Linked DNA regions of Homo sapiens: region 2 is linked to region 1. Evidence: promoter capture Hi-C in human tissues and cell types (Jung and others, 2019). All regions are on one chromosome and are shown on one strand. Each heading gives the region's core, a stretch centred on a gene start or on the middle of the fragment in contact. The rest is flanking DNA. Distances are from core to core; before and after follow the strand shown. Region 1 holds the start of CACYBP (calcyclin binding protein). Region 2 overlaps PRDX6-AS1 (PRDX6 antisense RNA 1).

The links. The method cuts DNA at HindIII sites, captures the fragments that hold promoters and counts their contacts. A contact is called where the count stands out against the background at its distance.
Region 2: a fragment that was not itself captured here is called in contact with the fragment with the promoter of CACYBP in region 1 in 1 of the 25 tissues and cell types used here (mesenchymal stem cells).

What each region holds. Positions count from the first base shown.
Region 1 is chr1:174,998,390-175,001,351 of GRCh38, forward strand. It overlaps CACYBP (calcyclin binding protein), which reads left to right and starts at 1,558. Exons shown (of 6, transcript NM_014412.3): 1 at 1,558-1,806. The coding sequence starts at 1,792. LOC105371622 (a long non-coding RNA gene) reads right to left here and starts at 1,257. Exons shown (of 2, transcript NR_188647.1): 1 at 1,206-1,257. RefSeq lists enhancers at 679-888, 831-1,367, 919-1,428 and a silencer at 1,459-1,578. The HindIII fragment of the contact is 5,191 bases long and covers 1-2,407 here.
Region 2 is chr1:173,445,071-173,448,195 of GRCh38, forward strand. The region is part of intron 1 of PRDX6-AS1 (PRDX6 antisense RNA 1); the gene reads right to left. The region is part of intron 2 of LOC100506023 (a long non-coding RNA gene); the gene reads right to left. It also overlaps a transcript of TNFSF4 not described here. Among named protein-coding and RNA genes, the nearest start is that of PRDX6-AS1, 15 kb to the right of the region's middle. RefSeq lists an enhancer at 1-34. The HindIII fragment of the contact is 4,095 bases long and covers 1-3,125 here.

The DNA of each region.
Region 1 (2,962 bases), core at 308-2,807:
AATTCCAGGCTATTGGTTGGACACTTAAAAAAATTTATACGATAAAATACACAGCTCTTAGGAGTTCATCCCATGAACTTTGACAATTCTATGTATCGGTGTAATATTTCCATTACCTGGGCAAATTCCCCTTCGCCGGGCCTTAAGCATAATCTACAGAAAAAACTACGTACATAAATATACGTTTACAACTCAATGAGATTTCTAAAGTGAACCCACCTATCTATAATCAGTGTCCAAATCAAGAAACATTACCTGAACCTCAAAAGCCCCCTGGTGGCTCTTTCATGTCATTGTCCTCCCCACTATGCTCATTAACACCATGGGCTAGTTTTTAAATGGAACCACGCAATATGAACTCTTCCATGTCTGGCTTCTTTCCCTCAACTTCATTTTTTTGTGTGAAATTCACGCATGTTGCGTTTCGGTAATTTATTTTTGTACTGTACTTCCGATTCTTTACTACAGATAATGGTCAGCCTCCATTCCGCTAACAGCTTTTTTTCCTCTCCGAGTTGCTGATTCTAATTGCTGCCTTGGACGATCTATAAAGCTGAGTGCGCGCTATGTGACCTCTCAGGGGTCGCTGCCTTGGACGATCTGTAAAGCTGAGTGCGCGCTATGTGACCTCTCAGGGGTTGTTTCCAACCGTGTTGTTGACATCTTGAGCCTGCCAAGGACTAGAATAATCTGAAAACTAGGCTTCTCTGGGGGTCTCACTGAGTGACAGGGTTAGAACCAGAAGAGAACATCGTCTCCAGAAGACATTTCACCATTTTCTTTGATGGTAAACAGGCTCACTTATACCGAATCCAAACCCAGGCGAGAACTACGGACTCTTGAAATGGTCGGTGAAAGGGGCGAAAGCACCAGGAAATCGTGCTTCAACAGTCCATGACTGAAAGGAGGGCCTGAAACTGTGGCCATAGGCGGGCCCTTTTGTTAGGGCCTTGACCTGGGCTTCCGCTACAGGGCCCGGTCACGAGGCCAACGTAGCTCCACCTCCTACGGCGGCCAGTGATGACGCCACCACGTCGGAACTGTTAGACCGCGGTGACGTCTCCACCGCGCCAAACTCACTGAAAATCAAACCGCTACCATTAGGAGCCCTCCACGCTTAACATATCCGTTCTTTCTCGTTTGAAAGTAACCAGGCTGCTCCTCCCCATTTTTCGCCTTCTTCTCGCGGAGGCTGAGAGACTAACCTTACACAACATGGCGGCCTGGTGTGTCTGGTGTCCTAGAGCGGACGAAAGCAGGTGACTCTCTAGTCAACTTCCGACTTGGACTCCGAAGATCGGTACGTTATTTCCGGGGCTGGGTTAACGCAGCGGTTCCGAGCTGCGACTGCGCAGCGTGGCCCAGCGCGGTCAAATTATAATACATAAAAGTTGTCAGGGCGGAGAGCAAGACATTACTCTTCTCGGATTGCCGGTTCGCTCGCGAGACTTGAGCGTTGCTAGGAGATTCGGCAGGCGGGCGGAGCCAGACTCGGCGGGGCGGGGAGGGGTGGGGCTAGGCTCGGCGAGGCGAGGAAGGGTGGGTGGAGCCAGGCTTGGCGGGCTGTGCGTGCTCGCGGTGGGCGGTGGCGGCGGCTGCCTCGCGAAGGTTCGAGATCCGTCGCGTGCGGGAGGCGGGCCGCGATCTTGCGCAGGGTCGGTGTGGGCGCAGGCTGCAGCGCCGCGACTCGTGCGGGTAGGCGTCTGCGCTCGGTTTGAGGGCTCGGCGCGGGGTTTCCTGTTCCTCCTTCTGCGCGGCTGCAGCTCGGGACTTCGGCCTGACCCAGCCCCCATGGCTTCAGAAGAGGTAAGTGGTCCGGCCCCATATTCCTTATGCCCCCCGGCTGGAGCTGCAGCGCCAGCCTCCCGCCCTACCGCCGTTTCCGTGGGCTGAGCCGCCCTGCGGCCACCCGGTCCCGCGCCAGTCAGTGCGCCGCCTTCCCGGGGGACACCTCACTCGCCCCTTGCTGCGCCGTCGGCTCCCCAGCGCTTCCACTCGACCTCGCACCCCACTCGCCTGCTGGGCTCGAGCGGGGGTGTGCGGCGATTATCCGTGCAGGCGGTGCGGGGAGTGGGTCTGGGAGAGCGGCCCTTTGCGCGTGTTCCTCAGGCCCTTTCTGCCCTGGTTTCCCAGCCAGTGGACAGGAAGCTTCATTCAAGCAAAGCTGGGTGCAAACATGAGTGTCGTTCTTGGTAGAGGGCGGTTGGAAGGTGAGTTCTCAGTGCTAGCACTTGAATTCTCCTAGTCAGGTTTTCTCTACACACGAGGAGCTGTGTTACTCTGGGCAAGTTGTTTAGCTTCTCTGTGTCGCAGTAGCATCCATTTCATAGGGTTGTTAAAAAATATGATTTCTAGGTGTTTAAGTCAGTGATTGGCAAACAGCAATCTGCTGTATGTGATTTTTAAAATAAATAACTTGGAAAGTTAGTTGTAATTAATAGTAAGAAAGCGAATGGCCTGTGTTAAAGCTCTGTAAACTCTGAACGTTGGAGAATTAAATTTTGTGGAGACTTAGTTTGCTCAGTTAGAAAATGGGAATGATAGTACTTGTATTGCTCATTTCCTGGCGTAAGTGGGAGGTGAAGACGGGACAGTTATTCACAGTTAAGTGTTGGGTGTGTATTAACTAGATTTGCTTTATGAAAACAAGTACTGGGGAGTCCCAAGCTTTTGTTTTGTTTTGTTTTTGTTTTTTAAACTCAAAATCTTTTCTTTAAATGAAGAAAAACTATGAGGTTTGTGTGTTCCAGTATTAATCTGGGTATCTTGTGACAAGTCTTTTAAGGTAGGTCTTGGGTACTATGTGCCCCTAGGAGATAACTTCACAGTCTTGCAGGTGGATAGCTCAGTGTTAGTCCTCTTGAAAGTAGAGATCGTTCTCAGTTTAGGCACTTAGAAATATACATTTGAGGGCACTTGATTTTTGTTTTGTTTGAGATAAAATTCAAGTTTTTAACCATTT
Region 2 (3,125 bases), core at 477-2,976, 1.6 Mb before region 1:
TGAGAGAGGTAGTACAGATAGAAGTGAAAAAAGAATATAAAAGAAAGTACAGTCAAGAGTGAATTCAATAAAGCCTACCTCTTCTGCTGATTACAGCTAAAAACTCTGGACAAAATACAAAAAACAACTACCTAAGGACTCTGAAAGGTAAAGAAATGCAGTCAGATTATGAAGAGAAGTCAAAAACTGAAACAGCAATTTGCACAGGATTAAGTTTCTCATTTTATTTCCTCTTTCTTTTCACAGGCTTTGGCTGAAAGCAATCACACAAATGAGCTGCGATGGGGGTGCTGCAGACAGCTAATACTTTCAGATAAATCCCTTCTGTCTAGAAAGAAGGCTGGGATCCTTTAAGCTGAAGAACATAGAAAGGAATCCTTGCATTCTCATTCCCTCCCCCATTTTCACAGCTTGCCTAGCAGAGCCAGGGTGAAAAGTAGCATGGTCGGCTAAAATCCCAATAGAAATTCTGTTTTTCTAGTTAAACAAACAGAAAAGGGCTCCTGTGGTCCAGAGAGTACTGGAGTAAGTCAGTAGGTAAATTTTCTCTCTCTTTTTTCCATCTCCACATAGCACCCAAAATGGTCCTGGTCACAGGACCTGGTAGCAACACAGGCAGCCAAAACTCCAAAAGAACCCCGGTCTATTGAGCCAGAGGATGAGGAATAGAAAACATATAGGTAGGTGACTATGGGGAGTCCCGGAGATAAGAGATTAGAGAAATGGATCTCCTAACTCTGTGTATGACCTAGCACAGGCCCAGGCTTAACCCTGAGCTGTGCATGCATGGAACATACTCAAAGCTGCCAAGTAGAGGTTCCGAAAACTGAGATAACATTGGAAGTATCACTCATAAAGTACAGATAGTCTGAACAAAACCAGTGTGATTACCTACTCAAATAAGCAAACAATCTTCCAAATCTCTTGAGGATTTTAATGAAAAACATCCAAATTAAATACTCAGAATGTCCAGGATACAATCTAAAATCACTCAGCGTACAAAGAACCAATAAAAGTTTACTAATTTGCATGAAAAGTACAGTCAATAAATGCTACCACTGAGAAGACCAAGATGGTAGAATAATCAGGCACAGATTTTAAGGCAACTATCGTAACTATGCTCCACAAAGTAAAGATAAACACTCTTGAACAAAGGGAAAAAAACAGAAATTATTGGCAGAATAATAGAAACTATAAAAAAAAAGAACCATCTTACAAAATTAAGCATATTTTTAACATACAATCCAGCAATCACATCCCTTGGCATTTATTCAAATGAGTTAAAAACATATGTCCACACAAAAACCTGCACATGGATGTACATAGTGACTTTATTCATAACTGCCAAAACCTTGAAGCAGCCAAGACTGTCCTTCAGTAAGTGAATGAATAAATAAACTGTGTGTAATGGTTAATACTGAGTGTCAACTTGATTGAATTGAAGGATGCAAAGTATTGTTCCTGGGTGTGTCTGTGAGGGTGTTGCCAAAGAAGATTAACATTCGAGTCAGTGGACTGGGAGAGGCAGACCCCCCCTCAATCTGGGTGGGCACCATCTAATCAGCTGCCAGTACAGCTATAAAGGCATGCAGGAGAAGATGGAAAAGTAGACTTGCTCGGTCTTCTGGCCTTCATCTTTCTCCCCTGCTGGATGCTTCATGCCCTCAAACAATAAATTCCAAGTTCTTCAGCTTTTGGACTCTTGGACTTACACCAGTGTTTTGCCAAGGGCTCTCAGACCTTCAGCTGCAGACAAGGCTGCACTGTTGGCTTCCCTACTTTTGAGGTTTTGGGACTTGGACTGGCTTCCTTGCTCCTCAGCTTGTAGATAGCTTATTGAGTGACTTTGCCTTGTGATAATGTGAGTCAATACTCCCTAATAAACTCCCCTTCATATATACATCTATCCTATTAGTTCTGTCCCTCCACGGAGCCCTGACTAATACACTGTGGTATATCCATACAATGGAACATTATTCAGTTCTAAAAGGAATGAGCTATCAAGGCATGAAAATACAAGGAAGAAACTTAAATACATGTTATTAAGTTAAAGAAGCCAATCTGAAAGGATTATATATTGTATGATTCCTACTATGCGATATTCTGGAAAAGGCAAAAGTATAGAAACAGTAAAAAAGTCAGTGATTGCCAGAGTTTAGCAGGGAAGGAGAGATGAATATGCAGAATATAGACAATTTTTACAGCAGTGAAACTATTCTGTATGATACTATAATGGTGGCTATATGTCATTATAGATTTGTTCAAACCCACAGAATCTGCAACACCAAGAATAAACCCCTTATGTAAATTATGGACTTTGGGTGATAGTGAGGTTTCAGTATAGGTTCATCACCCGTAACAAAGGTACCACTCTGGTACCAGATGTTGACAGTGTGGGAGGTTGTGCATGTGTAGGGGTAGAGGGCATATGGGAACTCTCTGTACTTTTCACTCAATTTGTCTGTGAACCCACAACTGCTCTAAAAATAGTCTTTTTAAAGATTTTTTTAAAGAATGAAATGGAAATTTTAGAAGTGAAAAAAATACACTGTGTGAAGTTAAGAAATCAATTGATGGGTTCGACAGCAAAATACAGAAAAAAGAAAAAAAGAGTCAGCAAACATAGTGAGACATCAATAGAAAGGGAAAACAGAGGAATTAAAGACAGAGGAGACAACTAGAAAATCAATAATAAAATAAATTCAAACATATCAATAATTACATTAAATATAAATTATCTAAGCACACCAATTAAAACATCGAGTTTGTCAAATTTGATTAAAAATAAATAAGACCTAACTATCTACAAGAAACCTACTTTAAAAATAAAGACATAGATGGGAATAGAAGTAATAAGATGAAAGAAGAGATACCATACAAACACTAATCGAAAGAAAAAATGTAGTGGCTATATTAATATCAAAGTAGATTTCAAAGCAAGAAATACTACTAAAGATAAACAGAGATATTGCATAATGGGATAAGGTTCAATTAATCAAGAAAACATAACAATCTTAAATGTACACACCTATTAAGAGAAGTTCCAAAAACTTAAAACAGAAACAGAAATGAGAACTAGATAAATCCACAACCATAGTTGGAGACTTTGACTTTCCTCTCACAGT